Regions from separate parts of the Homo sapiens genome. Here all the other regions are linked to region 4. The links are contacts of gene promoters, found by promoter capture Hi-C in blood cells and fetal thymus (Javierre and others, 2016). All regions are on one chromosome and are shown on one strand. The core of a region is centred on a gene start or on the middle of the fragment in contact, and the rest is flanking DNA. Distances in the headings are between cores, read along the strand shown. Region 1 overlaps VWF (von Willebrand factor). Region 2 has its middle 5.3 kb from the start of VWF. Region 3 overlaps VWF (von Willebrand factor). Region 4 holds the start of PLEKHG6 (pleckstrin homology and RhoGEF domain containing G6).

Region 1 (4,173 bases), core at 1,192-3,691, 220 kb after region 4:
TGTCGCCCAGGCTGGAGTGCAGTAGTGCGATCTTGGCTCACTGCAAGCTCCGCCTCCCGGGTTCACGCCATTCTCCCGCCTCAGCCTCCCGAGTAGCTGGGACTACATGCGCCTGTCACCACGCCCAGTTAATTCTTTATATTTTTTAGTAGAGACGGGTTTTCACCGTGTTAGCCAGGATGGTCTCGATCTCCTGATCTCATGATCTGCCCGCCTCGGCCTCCGAAAGTGTTGGGATTACAGGCGTGAGCCACCGCGCCCGGCCAAAGGCACCCCTTTCTCAAGAAACTTCACCACCACCTGCCGGGAAACGGCCAAGATAAACATAATAACTGAACATATAATGTACATGTATATACCTCTACAATGTCTACCATATGAACAGTAGTCACTTGGTGTGTTGCCACTGTGTGGACTGTGTGGCTTGCATCATGACATGTGATGGTGTTGGCCTGGCTTCCTCAGGGAGGCACAGTCTCTGTGACCATCATCTCCTCGCTCAGGATCACCTCCTCAAGGCGATCAGTCTCTATTGAGAAACTGAGTGCACCAGTTACCACTCTACCTACCGTAGAGTGGTGAATCATTCAGCAGCAGCAGCAACCTCCGACAGCTGTCTGAAGTGGAAGAAATTTCTTTTCATCAATGTTAGGAATCTTAGGCTCATAAGAACTCAGAGTTGGTTGAGAATCTAGCAGATATCTACTTCAACCCCCTACCTGCCGCATGAATGCTCTCCACAAACTGTGTCTGGGTAGACAGGTTATGCTGTGACCTTGACTGTAAGAGTTAAATCTTGGCCAGGCGCGGGGGCTCAGCCTGTAATCCCGGCACTTTGGGAGGCCGAGGCGGGCGGATCACGAGGTCAGGAGGTCGAGACCATCCTGGCTAACACAGTGAAGCCCCGTCTCTACTAACAATACAAAAAAAAAAAAATTAGCCGGGCGTGGTGGCGGGCGCCTGTAGTCCCAGCTACTCGGGAGGCTGAAGCAGGAGAATGGCGTGAACCCGGGAGGCGAAGCTTGCAGTGAGCCGAGATCGCACCACTGCACTCCAGCCTGGGCGACAGGGTGAGACTCTGTCTCAAAAAAAAAAAAAAAAAAAAAAGAGTTAAGTCTTTGAGACACCCTTGCTGGGCGCTTCCCAGCCATCTTGCAGACCTCAGCCCTAGGCAGCCCTCCTTTACTCCCTGGTAAATTCCTTCTTTCATTGTATGCCCGTTCGAAGCTAAAGCCCTGTCCTTCCGTGTCCCTGAATACTGGAGAAGCAGGTGCTTTGGGTCTGGTTTCTCCTGGTCTGGCTCAGGAGCTCACATCAATTGCAGTCCTGTCAGTCACTGAATAGCCTCAGATTTCCTGTTTTCCACTGGTCTCTGAATTTGGTGTTTATTAGGTGAACACAAGCCTTATTTTCTTTGGCCATTCATGTCTTCACATTCTCTCGCGTCCTCCATTATCTTGTAGAACTCTTTCCGCCTCCTCTGAAACAGCATGCAGTTCACCTGTGATTCCTCTTCCTCCCAGAAAATCACCTGTCCTGCTTGAGCTAACATTTTAAACAGTCATGTTGACTTTGAATAATCACAGCATGCCTCCTCAGTAGCCCAAAGAGGCACAGAAAATACCCATTCCGTTAGAGACAAAGCAGTTCACTCTTCATGTTCTCATTAAATATTGCTCAAGCCTTTTATTTGCAAAGGACCTACCAGCCCTTTCTGCTATTTCTGCTCATGGTGACTCTGAAAGGGAAATTCACAGGCATGGAGGGAGGCAATGTAAGCCCAGCGGACTTGGGTCTCACTGTCTAGGCCCACTTCTGCCTTCCCTCCTTCTTCTCCTTGCCTCTTCCATTCACTTAATTGGCAGTTTTGGTCTGGAATGGACTTTTCTTGGAGACTGGGAAGAATTTTGTTACATTTGTTTGCTTGGTAGCATAGTTGTGATTCATAGAGTACAGTTGTCAGGGGAGAGCCTGGCCCAGAGAAGGTCAGTAGATCTCAAGGAAGGACCCTTGGAATGCAGGATCCCAGAGAAGTTAGTTGTCAGATGATGGCCCTGGTTTTAGAGTTGGGGTGCCCACCCACTATGCCCCAGTGACACCAAGCTCAGAGCTGGGGTTTGCAATAAGTACACACGTGTCTTTCCCCGTTTTGATGAGAACTGCTCTCTCAAGTCTCTCTTTCTTGAGTCATTGATAGGCTAAGGAATGAGGACTTATTTCAAGTGCTTTAGTGAGGTCCAAGAATCCAGGGGGCAGTCCCTGGTTTGGCCCAATTCTCTGCATGTCCTCGTGTAAGTTACTTTCCTACTCTGCCTCTCAGTCTTCCCTCTCTGAGGTAAACAGAGCTCCACGGAACCCCCCATGGATAGGCACCCTTTCTTTACAGCAGACTGGCTCACCTGAGTGCAGGATGGGAGAAGGGCAGGGAGCCAATGGTTGTGGTGAAACAGTGGTGACCTTGGCCACTGTTCCCTTGGGGGTCTAGCCTCATGGCAGAGGTCAGTGGCTACCATGGGGTTTTGCAGATTTCCCTTGAACTTGGCCTTTAAAAATTTTTTTTTAAAATTTTACTTTAAGTTCTGGGATACATGTGCTGAACGTGCAGGTTTGTTACATAGGCATACATGTGCCATGGTAGTTTGCTGCACCTATCAACCCATCATTTAGGTTTTAAGCCCCACATGCATTAGGTGTTTGTCCTAATGCTCGCTCTCTCCTTGCCCCCGCCCCCCGCGCCCCCCCTCCCCGCCCACAGGCCGTGGTGTGTGATGTTCCCCTCCCTGTGTCCATGTGTTCTCATTGGAACTTGGCTTTTTATGTTGCTCATTTGACAAGCCCTTGAGGAGAGTTGGATAAGGACCTAGCACCCAAGCATTCAATTCAAAGGCCTCCCTAACATAATGTTCCCAAAATCCTTTAACGAACTATTTCTCAGGTGGGTTCCTTTCCCTTTTCCTTTTCCCTGGTGAGCAACAGAATGGACAAGAATCTGATGGTGCCCATAAGTGCATATTCACTGAGATGTTTCATATGGCTTGCGTGATACAACGTAGACTAAGGGACAAGACACGTAAGAGAAATTAAACCATGAAAGACTGTCTGGGGTTAGTAAATGACAAATCGCCAAGTGAATGGTAAGTGATAGCGCAGCTTAGGGGAATTAGCTCCTGTCACAGAGCTGATGCTTTTTTCTTGCTGGGAGCAGGATGGGTGAGTGATTCAGAAAGGGCTGCTTTCCATCCCCAGAGCTTGGTAGGCCCTAGACTGGGAACCAGGGAATGGTGCCCCGTCCTTGTCCATCCAGCCAGCATGCCCTAATCCCTAGAAGCTGCTCAGATGCCTCCAGGAGCCCCAAGGAGAAGGTGAGGAGGGTCCCTTAGAGAGGTCCATGGCCAAGTCTCCTACTTCTCATGAGCACTGGACCCCAGCTATCTTAGAGAGAGGAATGTCAAGCTCTGCAGAAACCATCCATTTGGTGGAAATCTATCAACAGGTTTCACCAGGTCCTTGTGAGTCAGAATCTTGGAATGCGGGTGGGAATCTTGGGCCGGCCAGAAGTTATAAATAGAATCAGCTACCCTCCCCCACCCATCATTACAGCTGACCAATGAGAAAGTATTCCCTGCTGCAGGGTGAATTCTTGAACCCACTACTTTGGAGCAGCTCAGACTCCAGGCGCCTCCATACCTACCAGGGGCTGCTGCAGGGCACCCATCCCAGAGCTAGAAAGATCAGGGCTTGTGGAACAATATTGCACTCTATGTATTAGACTTTCCTTTCTTTGTTCACTCAGTCCTAGGAATGTCCCCCTCCCTTCTCCTTTGTCAGCTGCTTGGGAGCAAACACAATAGCTAAGCTTCAGATCTCTGGCTCTGCTTTCTCTCCTCCTGCTGCCTGCCACTGAGATGTGCTTGCTTTCCCTCCTCCTCCCCTGCACCCGCCTGATGTCTCCAGGGAAGATGCCTGGTCTTCTTTAATGAACTGGAAATGTGATTAAGATGGGCCACAATTGGGCCTGCACACCAACCCAGGCATGGTGAGGTCATGGCTGGATGGGCTGGGGCAGCTGCTCTCCCGCAGCTCCTGGCACGGCCGACAGGAGTTGAAAGAAGACAGGAGTAGCTGATGCAGGGCCTTGGAGCCAGGGAGATGCTGGAAGTGTGCAAATTAGCT
Region 2 (4,341 bases), core at 1,726-4,225, 180 kb after region 4:
CTGCAATCTCCGCCTCCCGGGTTCACACCCTTCTCCTGCCTCAGCCTCCTGAGTAGCTGGGACTACAGGCGCCCACCACCACACCCGGATAATTTTTTATATTTTTAGTAGAGACAGGGTTTCACCGTGTTAGGATGGTCTCAATCTCCTGACCTTGTGATCCGCCCGCCTTGGCCTCCCAAAGTGCTGGGATTACAGGCGTGAGCCACCGTACCTGGCCATTTTTTTTTTAGACGGAGTTTCGGTCTTGTTGCCCAGCCTGGAGTGCAATGGTGGGATCTCGCCTCACCCCAATCTCTGCCTCCCTGTTCAAGCCATTCTCCTGTCTCAGCCTCCTGAGTAGCTGGGATTACAGGCATGCACCACCACGTCCGGCTAATTTTGTATTGTTAGTAGAGACAGGCTTTCTCCATGTTGATCAGGCTGGTCTTGAACTCCTGACCTCAGGTGATCTGCCCTCCTTGGCCTCCCAAAGTGCTGGGATTACAGGCGTGAGCCACCGCGCCCGGCCACATTTGAAATTGTTTTTAACTATTCTTTTTTTTTTTGTTTTTGAGACAAGAGTCTCGCTCTGTCGCCCAGGCTGGAGTGCAGTGGCGCAATCTTGGCTCACTGCAAGCTCCGCCTCCCGGGTTCACGCCATTCTCCTGCCTTAGTCTCCCGAGTAGCTGGAACTACAGGCGTTTTTAACTATTCTTGATATTTTGCTTCCCATATGGAGTTTAGGATCAGCTTGTCTAATTATATGAAAAACCCTGTTGGATTGAAATTGTATTTAATTTATTGATTAATCTGAGGATATTTGGCATCTTTACAATATTGTGACTTAGTAAATATGAACACAGCATGTCTCTTCATTGGGTTTTCTTTTATGTCTTGGGACAAGATTTATGATTTTCTCTGTAATATTGGACAGTTTTTTTTTTGTTTTTGTTTTTTTGTTTTTTTTTTTTTGAGACAGAGTCTTGCTTTGTTGTCCAGGCATGATCTAGGCTCACTGCAACCTCTGCCTCTCTGGTTCAAACGATTCTCCTGCCTCAGTCTCCCCAATAGATGGGATTACAGGCATGCGCCACCACACCTGGCTAATTTTTTGTATTTTTAGTAGAGACGGGGTTTCACCATGTTGGCAAGGCTGGTCACAAACTCCCGACCTCAAGTGATCCGCCCACCTCGGCCTCCCAAAATGCTGGGATTATATGTGTGAGCCACCACGCCCGGCCTATTCTATTTATTCTTAAGTATCTGCAGTAATTGCTACTTTACTAATAGGGCCACTTCAAAGATTGTATTTTATAACTATATGGGAACATAATAGATTTTAAAAAGGAATCTTGCGGCAAACTTCTAAACTCTTAGGTAGATTCTTTTGAATTTTTCTATGTACACATTCATATCTTCAAATAATAACTATTTTGCTTTTTCCTAAGCTCCATACCTCATATTTTCTCTTCTTCTCTTACTTTGCTGGCCTGGGCATCTGATCCAATATTGACTAGCAGTGATGACATTGAACATGCTTGTCGGCCGGGTGCGGTGGCCAACGCCTGTAATCCCAGCACTTTGGAAGGCTGAGGCGGGTGGATCACGAGGTCAGGAGATCGAGACCATCCTGGCTAACACGGTGAAACCCCGTCTCTACTAAAAATACAAAAAAATTAGCCGGGCGTAGTGGCAGGCACCTGTAGTCCCAGCTACTCAGGAGGCTGAGGCAGGAGAATGGCATGAACCTGGGAGACGGAAATTGCAGTGAGCCGAGATCGCACCACTGCACTCCAGCCTGGCTACAGAGCGAGACTCAGTCTCAAAAAAAAAAAAAAAAAAAAAAAAAAAAGAACATGCTTGCATGTTCAAGTAATTATCCTGCGTCACCCTCCCTAGAAGCTGGGACTACAGGCGCGCGCCAGCGGCATGCCCAGCTAATTTTTGTATTTTTAGTAGAGACGGGGTTTCACCATGTTGGCCAGGATGGTCTAAATCTCTTGACCTCGTGATCCACAGGCCTCGGCCTCCCAAAACGCTGGGATTACAGGCGTGAGCCACCGCGCCCGGCCTTGTTCTGGTTTTTAAAGGGAAAGTGGCTTCCATTTTACCATAAGTATGAAATATGCTCTGTGTCTCAGGCCAAGGACCTTCCCTTCTTTTTATAGGTTACTTAAGTGTTTTGTTTACTTGTTTTCCATAACTGGGTGTTGTTGACTTTTACAAAACTGAAAGCTTTTCTGCTTTATAATTTAATCGTTTTTAAAAATAAATTTTAAGCTTATATTATGAAGTGCACATAAATCTATAGATTCCATCTTCCTGGTGCATTGATCTTTGTATCACCTTTTTCTACTCTTTGGTGCTAATGATGACTTTGATCTTAAGGTCCACTGTGTGTGATAGTGGTATAAAACGCTTTTCCTTGGCCATCACTTGCCTCTCCTTTCTTTTCCTTACGGTCTTTGTGTGTTTATATTTTAGGACTGTCTCTTGAACATTGCTGGATTGTGTGCCTTTTTAAAGAAATCCAATTTGATAATCTCTACCTTTTTATTATTGATTATTGATCTGTTTGAATTTTTTGTACTGTTGCATTTACATTTTATACTATTTGTCTTGCTTTTTCCATTTTTCTCCTAGATCAATCTAGTTTTTAAAAATTTCTTGTTTTTTTTCGATAGGTTTGGAAAACATACATTCAATTCTATTCTTTCAGTAGCCTCCCTTAAAATCTTACTATGCAGTATAGCCTTAACTAAGTCTAAAGTGATCATGACCTGTTTCTTCCTTCTGAGCCATGCAAGGACCTTAATACACTTTCACTCCTGTCTTACATGTCATTGCTATCTGGTATTTTGGTTCTAATTTTTAATAACTCTCCAACTTATCATTACCATTGTTATTGTTTTATATAATGACTGCCTGCTCATATTTACCCCCAGATTTACTATTTTATTTATTTACCTTTTCTTGGCATCCTGTTTCTAGGCTGAATTTTCTTCTTCCTGGCAGGGCGAGGTGGCTCACACCTGTAATCCCAGCACTTTGAGAGGCCGAAGCAGGAAGACTGCTTGAGCCCAGGAGCTCTAGGAGTTTGAGACCAGCCTAGGTAACATGGCAAAACCCTGTCTCTACAAAAAAATACAAAAATTAGCCAGGTATGGTGGTACATGCCCATAGTCCCAGCTACTAGGGAGGCTGAGGTGGGAGGATCGCTTGAGCCCAGAAGGTTTAGGCTGCAGTGAGTTGTGACTGTGTCACTGCGCTCCACCCTGGGTGACAGAGACCCTGTCTCAGAAACAATAACAAAAAATGTTTTTTCTCCCTGAAATTCCTTCTTTAGTAGTTTCTTCAGAAAGGACTGTTAATGTTAAGCCCACTCTGTTTTTCCAAAAAAAAAAAAAAAAAAAAAGTCTATGTTTCCTCAACTCTGAACAATAATTTACAGGTAGACCAGATGTTACAGTCCCTCTGCCACGGCCCTCTAACCCCATCTCTCCGTTTCTTCTAGACTACCAGTGTCTGCTCCTCCGTGCCTGAGGGCCAGAAGTGTTGAGGGCTGAATGCCTCCTGAAGCAGCCTTGACAATAACTGACAGGAAGGAGTAAGTGTAGAAACTCTCCTGCTCCCTGACCCAAGAGTGGGAAGATTCAGAGGCATGGATCTTACATTTTCCCAGACTTCCCTCCAGAAGGAAGCTTTCTTGTCCACTTGGTGGCTGGCATAATAAACATCTTTTATTGACTGCTTTCCCTGCCCCGTATCACATTCCCACTTCCCTGCCGATGCTTCCTGTCCTCCCAAATCAATTATCTACACTAAAATACTCAGGGTCTGCTTCTGGGACTTCAAACTAAGACACTGCATATAGAATTCTCCACAAATGGACTTCTTCTCTCAGCACTTCTCTTTGGATCTTCTAATTCTATCATGTTTCTTAATTCTGCCTCCATTTTTTTTTTTTTTTTTTTTTTTTTTTGAGATGGAGTCTCACTCTGTCACCCAGGCCAAAGTGCAGTGGTGTGATCTTGGCTCACTGCAACCTCTGCCTCCTGGGTTCAAGCAATCCTCCTGCCCCAGCCTCTTGAATAGCTGGAATTACAGGCATGCACCACCATGCAAGGCTAATAGTTGTATTTTTAGTAGAGATGGGATTTCAACACGTTGGCCAGGCTGGTCTCGAACTCCTGACCACAAGTGATCTGCCTTACTTGGGCTCCCAAAGTGCTGGGATTACAGGCATAAGCCACTGTGCCTGGCTGCTCTTCCATTTTTTCATCTCTATATTTGAGTGATTTCTTTAGAACCATTTTTCAGCTTTTTTTTTCCCAAAAATATCTGGTGTTTTTGAATTTT
Region 3 (4,533 bases), core at 191-2,690, 200 kb after region 4:
CAAAGAACTGGGACCACAGACGCCAGCCACCTCGCCTGGCTAATTTTTTTTTTCTTCATATTTTTAGTAGAGACGGGGTTTCACCGTGTTAGCCAGGATGGTCTCGATCTCCTGACCTCGTGATCCACCCGCCTCAGCCTCCCAAAGTGCTGGGATTACAGGCGTGAGCCACCGCACTCGACCGATACCATTTTAAATAGCACTGCTAGGCCAGAGCGGGGTGGCTCATGCCTGTAATTACTCGCACCAAGGAGCTCAAGACCAGCCTGGGCGACACGGTGAGATCTTGTCTCTACAAAAAGAAAAAAAAAATTAGCTGGATGTGGTGGTACATACTTGTGATCCCAGTTACCCTGGAGGCTGAGGTGGGAGGATAACCTGGGCCCAGGAGGCAGAAACTGCAGCGAGCCATGTTCACATCACTGCACCCCAACCTGGGCAACAGAGCACAACCCTGTCTCAATAAGTGAATGAATGAATGAATAAATAACACTCTCCTAGAGCACCTGTTACCAGTAACTCACAGTGTTGCCTTTTTGTTTGCTGCCTTACAATATACTCAATTGTCGCATGTTTGTCTTCTATTTATACGCAGGTTGTAAACTCCCAGAAGCAAAAGATCATGCTTTTAGATTTTTCTTTTGTGATGTTTGAGAGCCTACCTGAGGGCAATGTATCCAGAAGTCACTCAATAATTATTTTTAGATGAATGGAAAAATGGGTGAGAAAATGAGATTTTTAGGGAGATTTTTGTTGCTCGCTTGTAAAGACTTTTTGGGGCGTTTTCTGCTGAGAAAAGGTTACGTAGATAATGATTCTTAATCAATGTATTCATTTTTTGAGAGGAGTAATAATCACTACTATTGACTTTTTTCTCTTTCAGGGGACTTCCAGAATGGCAAGAGAGTGAGCCTCTCCGTGTATCTTGGGGAATTTTTTGACATCCATTTGTTTGTCAATGGTACCGTGACACAGGGGGACCAAAGGTAAGCCAACAATGTCTGAGTTAGAAAGGACCCTAGGGATCCCCTGACACAACCCCCTCATTTTTAGATGAGGAAGCTGGGGCCCAGAGAATGGAAGCAAATGTTCCAAGGAAGTGAGTAGCAGGGCTGGGTGAGAGCCAGCTCTCCCGATTGCTGATCTAGGTCCTCAGCCACTTTGCACCATGTTCTGAACCCTACAACATGGGGTTGGGGTTAGAAGGTGGGAGAGACATCCAGAAAATGCACAAGAAGCCCACTTCTGAACTTAGCCTTTGCCCTCCAGAGTCTCCATGCCCTATGCCTCCAAAGGGCTGTATCTAGAAACTGAGGCTGGGTACTACAAGCTGTCCGGTGAGGCCTATGGCTTTGTGGCCAGGATCGATGGCAGCGGCAACTTTCAAGTCCTGCTGTCAGACAGATACTTCAACAAGACCTGCGGGCTGTGTGGCAACTTTAACATCTTTGCTGAAGATGACTTTATGACCCAAGAAGGTAAGATGTTCTGGGATACCATTTCCCTAAAGTGTGGCCATGCTTTTTATTTCCTTGCTCATAAACCTTCACTAACATGCCTTCCCTGGCATTCAAGCCTCACTGTGACCTCACCTCAATTTATGTTGCCAACCTTATCTCTTTGCATTCCATTCCAATGCCTAGACCTCTAGTGAAACCAGGTCTTAGAGCTCCTCAAAGCTGACTTCGTTCAACTTTGAATTCTCTGTAGCAACTTGCACGTGGCAGATGGTTGGTCAATGCTGGGTAGTTTGAGTCGATCCTCCTCAGCCCACTACAGTGGAGTGGATAAAATCTATGGAGTGGTCGGTCCTCCACACCATCCAAAAAGGCCAGTTTATGTGTGTGTGCATGTGTGTGTTCACGAGCAATAGAAAGTAATATGGATAATGTGAAAACACTAGGCTGGGCGCAGTGGCTTACCCCTGTAATCCCAGCATTTTGGGAGGCCGAGGCAGGCGGATCATGAGGTCAGGAGATTGAGACCATCCTGGCTAACATGGTGAAACCATGTCTCTACTAAAAATACAGAAAATTAGCCAGGCGTGGTGGCGGGTGCCTGTAGTTCCAGCTACTTGGGAGGCTGAGACAGGAGAATGGCGTGAACCCGGGAGGGAGAACTTGCAGTGAGCAGTGATCGTGCCGCTTCACTCCAGCCTGGGCGACAGAGCGAGACTCCGTCTCAAAAAAAAAAGAAAACACTAAAGATGAATATTTCAATCTTCTTTAATTTCAATTACATAAACATTCAATTAGTGATGTTCCCTTGCCAAAGCTAAACACTTACATATGTTATCTTTCTTCCTTATGACCCAACCACTTTCTGATTAGAGAGTAAACATGCAGAGAAACAATTGACTCTTCCTTTCATTGGAATGTACCATATTGGAAAATAGCATGATAGTTTATTTTTTGGTTTTCTCCAGCACTGATTTTATTGTCTGATATGTACATTTAGGGCTATAAATTTCCCTCTAAATATCACTTTAGTTGCACTCTATATATGTGTGTGTGTTTGTGTAAATATGTATATATACTGTATATGTGTGTATATATGTAATTATATATGTGTGTGTATATATATGTATATATATACACGTGTGTGTGTGTGTCTGTGTGTCTCTGTGTGTGTGTATTTAGAGATAAGGTCTTGCTAAGTTGCCCAAACTGATCTTGAACTCTTGGGCTCAAGGAATCCTCTTGCCTCAGCCTTCCTAGTGGAATTATAGGTGTGTGTTACTGTGCCCAGCTGTACCAATTTTGATATGTAACATATTTCATGTTTTAAATTTTCTAACTTCCATTTTGAGCTCTTTCTGAACCTATATACATTTACAAATTCAAAAGTTTGAATTTTTTTTTTTTTTTTTTTGAGACGGAGTCTCGCTCTGTCACCCAGGCTGGAGTGCAGTGGCGCGATCTCGGCTCACTGCAAGCTCTGCCTCCTGGGTTCACGCCATTCTCCTGCCTCAGCCTTCCGAGTAGCTGGGACTACAGGCACCCGCCACCATGCCTGGCTAATTTTTTGTATTTTTAGTAGAGACAGGGTTTCACTGTGTTAGCCAGGGTGGTCTCCAACTCCTGACCTCGTGATCTGCCCCCCTCGGCCTCCCAAAGTGCTGGGCTTACAGGTGTGAGCCACTGTACCTGGCCTGAAGTTTTTAAAGTTACCTATTTGTAACTAAATTGATTTCTAAATTTGGTTAAAAAATTGTGGCCTAGTTAAAAAATTGTAGACTTGTTTGCAGCCTTTTTTTTTTTTTTTACAAGTGTTCTATGTATGCCCAAAAATAATGTATTCTCTGATTGGTGCAGGACTCTACCTATACTTCTTGAATTAAGCTTTTTAATTGTGTTTTCCAGATCTTCTGTATGTGTACTACTTCTTGTCTGCTTATTAATGACCCATTACTAAAAGAGCTAAATTTTTCTATAATGGTGGTGAATTTGTCACTTTCTTCATGTAATTCTGTCAAATTTTGCTTTGTGTGTGTGTGTGTGTGTGTGTGTGTGTGTGTATATATTTCTTTCTTTCTTTCTTTCTTTTTTTTTTTTTTTAAAGACAGAGTCTTGCTCTGTCACCCAGGCCGGATTGCAGTGGTGAGATCTCAGCTCACTACAGCCTCCACCTCCCAGATTCAAGCGATTCTTCTACCTCAGCCTCCTGAGTAGCTGGGACTACATCCAGGTGTCACCACGCCTGGCTAATTTTTGTATTTTTAGTAGAGATGAGGTTTCAGCATGTTGGCCAGGCTAGTCTTGAACTCCTGACCTCAAGTGATCTCTCCGCCTCTGCCTCCCAAAGTGCTGGGATTACAGGCGTGAGTCACCGTGCCTGGCCTGCTTTGTATATCTTGAGCCTTTGTTATTAGTGTTTAGAAATACTGAATCTTTCGGCTGGGTGCGGTGGCTCAAGCCTGTCATCCCAGCACTTTGGGAGGCCGAAGTGGGCGGATCATGAGGTCAGGAGATGGAGACTATCCTGGCTACCACGGTGAAACCCCGTCTCTACTAAAAATACAAAAAATGAGCCAGGTGTGGTGGCAGGTGCCTGTAGTCCCAGCTACTCGGGAAGCTGAGGCAGGAGAATGGCATGAACCTTGGAGGCGGAGCTTGCAGTGAGCTGAAATCGCACCACTGCACTCCAGCCTGGGCGACAGAGTGAGACTCCGTCTCAAAAAATATATATATATATATATTGAATCTTTCTAGGGAATTGTTCCTTTAATGTAATGACTCTCATTTTTACCAGTGCTTTTTGCCTTCAATCTGTCTGATATTAGTATAGCTATTCCACCTTTCTTTTGGTTAGTGTTTGTTTGATGTATCTTTTTCCATTCTTTCAACCTTTCTATGTGATTTTGTTTCAGATGTGTGTCATGGAAGCACCACATGGCTCTATTTTATTATTGTTCTTTCAAAAGTCAGATTTATTGAGGTTAATTTACAGACAGTAAAATTCACCCTTTCACATACAGTTCTCTGAGTTTTCGCAAAAGCGTAGAGTCATGTAACCACCACAATCAAACTATAG
Region 4 (4,246 bases), core at 1-2,500:
CTCTCTCACATGTGTGCATATTTGGGGTACAAGCTCCTGCACTGGTCTCAAATGGGAACAAGGGTCACAGACAGGTCTCGGGCTTTCTGGATACACCCAGGTGGGAGGGTTCTCCTTGCACCTAGATATAACCCCATCCCCTTCCCCATATAAAGCTTGGGAAAAAGCTGGAGGGAGGCCATGGTGGGTGGGGTGGGCTGGGAGTGGGGGTGGCTGGAGACAGCCCAGTCTGCCACCAGTTTTTGTACAGCCTGTAAGCCTTTACATATTTACATAGTTGAAACAACTGCTGCCCCCCCTGCAAAAAAGCCACCAATATTTTGGGACAAGTAAATATTACATGATATTCAAATTCAGTGTCCATAAACACAGTTTTGTTGGAATCCATCCTCTTCTGCTGGTCTCCTAATAACCTGTGACTGCTTCTTGCTAGTTGGGACAGACGGTGTAGGCCGCGAAGTCTCTAATCTTTACTGTCTGGCCTTTACTGAAAGGCTTGCCCATCTCCTACCTGAACCCTCCTGACCACAGACAGGGAGGTGAGTGGGGCCAGCTGTCCGGCCACTGCCCTTAGAGACCAGCCAAATAGAATTAGAGTTTCTCCAGTTTCGGGCTATATATTTGGTCCTCCCCAGACTCTGGGAATACCACCATGGAGCTGGGGGCCAGGCGTGGGGCTCCATCCCTCCCCCCTAAACCTGGAGGGAGGGCCCGCCCTCGAGTGGGCAGGGCCTGGAAGAGGAGAGGCCTCCTAAGGGGCGGTGGGCTCAAGAAGGCTGCGCAGGTGTTTGTGCCCCGACCGGGTGGGCCTGAGGTCCTGCCTCAGCCCTCCCTTACCTTCCTCCGATTCAGGAGCAGAGGAGGAAACGTTCGCTGTCCCTCCTGCCGCCTCCCAATAGTCCTCCCTCTGAGGGCGCTGTCTCCCTCGCACTGCTCCCTACCCAGGGTCCTGTCTCAGCCCAGCCCCCGGCTCCCCTCCTCCCGCCTTCGGGAGGCCAGGCCTTCCTTCCCCTTCGCCCCGGCTTCCAGGCCCCGGGTCCCGGCCGCCCCGCCCCCGGGCCGCGTAGCCCTCCCGCCGCTCACCTGTGCCCACAGGTGTCACCGCACCCGCTGCCCTGCGCCGCCCTCCCCGCCCGCGGGGCTCCCCGTCGCCGTCGGCTCCCCGGCGATGCCAGCCAGCCCCGATGCCCAGCCTGGGACTGGGATCGAGCGGCCCGCGGGAGCCGGGCAGCGCGGGTCCGGGCGAGGAGGGCGGGGACCGGGCTGGCCCCTCCCTACCGCCAGCACCGCTCGGGGCAGAGGGGCAGAGGGGCGGGGCCCTGGGGACCGAGCAGCCCCCGCCCTCACGCAGCCACCGCCTTCCCCGGAGAGGACAGCTCACGTGGCGGTGCCCTCCTTTCCCCTTTTCGGTCGCACCTGAACTCGACACCCGCCGGCCGAGCGGGAGGGCTGGGACCGCGCGCCCTCCACTCCGGGCCAGACCCCCGCGAGGCGCTGCAGTAATGAGGGCTGAGTAAGGGGCGGGGCGCCGCCGGGGGAGGCGGCGAGGGTGACAACCTGTGGCAGGCACCCCTCTCTCCTGCTGGTCGCGGCGAGTGGCCGGCCGTCCGGTCCTCCCCCTGCCTCGGCCTAGACCCCTAAGCAGGCAGGGAGCCCGCCTGCCAGCTGGAGGGGCAGGGGGCCCCGTCGCTGTGTGGAGTCCAAAGTGTGAGCCTTATCTCTCAGAGGACCGGCTGGCCTGCCTGGTGGAAGGTGATACTGGAAGGCTATCCTGGACTTTGCCTTTGCTCCAGGGATAGGCAGCTGAGGCCTGACCCGCACTTCTCCTATGACCTAAGACTCAGGTGGGGGCACCCTCCCAGTTCACCTGCAAATAAGCCCACTCCCGGCTACACCAGGGTCACCCAGCCCTTGCGGTGGCTGCTAAAATAGATGCTGTGGGGCCAGGCGCGATGGCTCACGCCTGTAATCCCAACACTTTGGGAGGCCGAGGCGGGCGGATCACAAGGTCGGGAGATGGAGACCAGCCTGGCCAATATGGTGAAACCCCGACTCTACTAAAAATACAAAAATTAGCTGGGCATGGTGACGGGCGCCTGTAGTCCCAGCTACTTGGGAGGCTGAGGCGGGAGAATCGCTTGAACCTGGGAGGTGGAGGTTGCAGTGAGCCAAGACAGCACTACTGCACTCCAGCCTGGGCAACAGAGTGAAACTCCATCTCAAAAAAAAAAAAAAAAAAAAAGAAAGAAAAAGAAAAAGATGCTGTGGAAGGACTGACACATGCTGGGCATTGCATGAAAGGACCATACTTTATTTTCTTTATTTTTAAAATTTATTTTTTAAAAAGAAAATAGAGACAATATCTTGCTGTGTGGCCCAGGATGGACTCCAACTCCTGGGTTCAAGCGATCCTCCTGCTTCGGTTTCCCCACCTTTTCACTTCTCCAAATCATGGCACCTCGTCTGACAGAAGCACTGGATATTTGAGATAGAAGTGTCCTGTGGATGTGTGGTCATTATAATCTCACAACCATGAAACCCAAGACCCTGTAGTTGGCAGGTGGCAGGTCTGAGGCTCCCAGCCCCTCACCCTGACTGTGGTCTATTTCCTGCCAATGAACTCAACAGTGATTGATACGGCTCCTTACTTCTTCAGAGCATCCTGAAGTTCAGGAAACACTTTCAGAAGCAGAATCTCCTTGAGTTGCCAGGGGAAAAGGCCTCTATTCCCTTTTCCCATCTAGGCTATGAAACGCATACATGATCAGAGTGTTCTAGTCCTCACTCGGACTCTGGTGACTCTATTTTGTTTGGAGGAGGAATCTATATCTTTGGGCAGTTTCTAATTTTGTATTCCCTGTGTCCATCCTCAAATCTGCCCTCTGGGATTCTCTTTCTCTGAGCTTGCTGTTGTGTGATTGCTCTGCTGGTTCAGAAGTGTCCTCTGTTCCTCCAGCTCCTTGAACCAGCCTGTCTCCTGCTCCTGGCCCAGCTGGTGGTGGGACTAGTTTTCGGGGGTGAAGTCAGGTGGGAAAGGAACTGCAGTGGCAAGAAACCAGAGTGTGCCTAGTTCCTAGCCCTTCCCTCTTCCCATTCACTGTGTGTGTGTGTGTGTGTGTGTGTGTGTGTGTGTGTGTGTGTGTGTGTGTGTGTGGTGAGAGCTAGACAGAGATAGAGAGATGTCCAGGGATGACAAGAGTAGCCATGAGGGAAAGAGTTAATAAGCCAGGAGAGGAGGTGGTGATTACGGACAGTATTAAATGACACCCCAGAGACAGCTGGTGCCAATGGCCCCTAGCTTCTCCTCCCAGTGTCTCCCAGAAGGAGTGGGAAGGAGGAATAAGAGGGAAGATGAAATTGAGAGAGCACCAAAGACAAGCCTGGGCTTACAGTGCTCTGGGGTGAGCTGGCTAGAGGGGCCCAGTGGCAGGTGGTGGTGGGTGGCGGGGTGGTTAACCCTTTCACTTCCCTCTAGGCGTTGAGGTCCAGTCTCCACCCACTACTGCCCCAGGGCCTGTCTTCAGCCTCCCTGGGAGGAGAGGTTCCCAGGGCAAGCTGGAGTCTAGAAGCCAGAGGTGTGGCCGGGCACAGGTGTGTGGCCTAGGAGGCAGGCCTCCATGTTCTGTTTCTTCTCTTCTGTCACTCTCACAGTCTCCACTTCCATGACTCCTCTGTGCTGCGGAGAGCACACTCCTATGGCAGGCTGAGGGGAGCATTCTCAGGGAGCTGAATGAAATGTAAAGAATTGGGAGGCTGGAGGCTTGGCCTCTGCCAAGTGAGGCTAGGGGCCATCTGGTCCTTGGACCAGAGTATGCCATCTGGATACTTCTCTTTATTCCTGGTTATCCTAGCCTTTCCTCACATGTCTAGCTTGAGTCATATGCCTCACTTTCTCCCAGGTAAGATGCTCCTCATTAGGCCCCTGGATTGACCCCATAACTGATGGTAAAGTGTGTGTCCACGGTCAGAGCTCTGAGGATCAAATGCTTCTGTCCAATAGCAGCCTGAGGATAACTGCCTGGGGTTGGCATAAGGGGCTCACCAGGCAGGAAGGTCAGGGAAACTCATTTGTGCCTCGACCTCTGCTGAGCCCATATCTCTCAGGGCAGAAGTGGGGACCATCTGGGCTAATGAGGGGCTGGCAGGCACTAGCAACAGGAGGCAGCTAATGGGAGCTGTGTCCTCCCTGCCCAGAGCGAGGCAGAAACTGAGGGTTCAAGCTAGGAGGCGCCAGGTCATGTGAGGC

The links. Contacts are between HindIII fragments. The CHiCAGO score rates a contact against its expected background, and 5 or more counts as called.
Region 1: a fragment that was not itself captured here is called in contact with the fragment with the promoter of PLEKHG6 in region 4 in 2 of 17 cell types (monocytes and M1 macrophages); the score reaches 6.2 in monocytes.
Region 2: a fragment that was not itself captured here is called in contact with the fragment with the promoter of PLEKHG6 in region 4 in 7 of 17 cell types (monocytes, naive CD4 T cells, neutrophils and 4 more); the score reaches 8.7 in monocytes.
Region 3: a contact is called between a fragment that was not itself captured here and the fragment with the promoter of PLEKHG6 in region 4, in 3 of 17 cell types (monocytes, neutrophils and naive CD4 T cells). The highest score is 8.4, in monocytes.

Annotation. Positions count from the first base shown.
Region 1 is chr12:6,084,289-6,088,461 of GRCh38, reverse strand. All of the region lies in intron 6 of VWF (von Willebrand factor), which reads left to right. Among named protein-coding and RNA genes, the nearest start is that of VWF, 38 kb to the left of the region's middle. RefSeq lists an enhancer at 4,129-4,173. The HindIII fragment of the contact is 2,835 bases long and covers 1,024-3,858 here.
Region 2 is chr12:6,127,757-6,132,097 of GRCh38, reverse strand. No RefSeq gene overlaps it. Among named protein-coding and RNA genes, the nearest start is that of VWF, 5.3 kb to the right of the region's middle. The HindIII fragment of the contact is 1,421 bases long and covers 2,265-3,685 here.
Region 3 is chr12:6,107,319-6,111,851 of GRCh38, reverse strand. It overlaps VWF (von Willebrand factor), which reads left to right. Exons shown (of 52, transcript NM_000552.5): 4 at 884-986; 5 at 1,270-1,478. Among named protein-coding and RNA genes, the nearest start is that of VWF, 15 kb to the left of the region's middle. The HindIII fragment of the contact is 3,806 bases long and covers 1-3,343 here.
Region 4 is chr12:6,307,686-6,311,931 of GRCh38, reverse strand. It overlaps PLEKHG6 (pleckstrin homology and RhoGEF domain containing G6), which reads right to left and starts at 1,250. Exons shown (of 16, transcript NM_001384598.1): 1 at 1,084-1,250. RefSeq lists a silencer at 1,304-1,353 and an enhancer at 1,716-2,436. The HindIII fragment of the contact is 5,964 bases long and covers 158-4,246 here.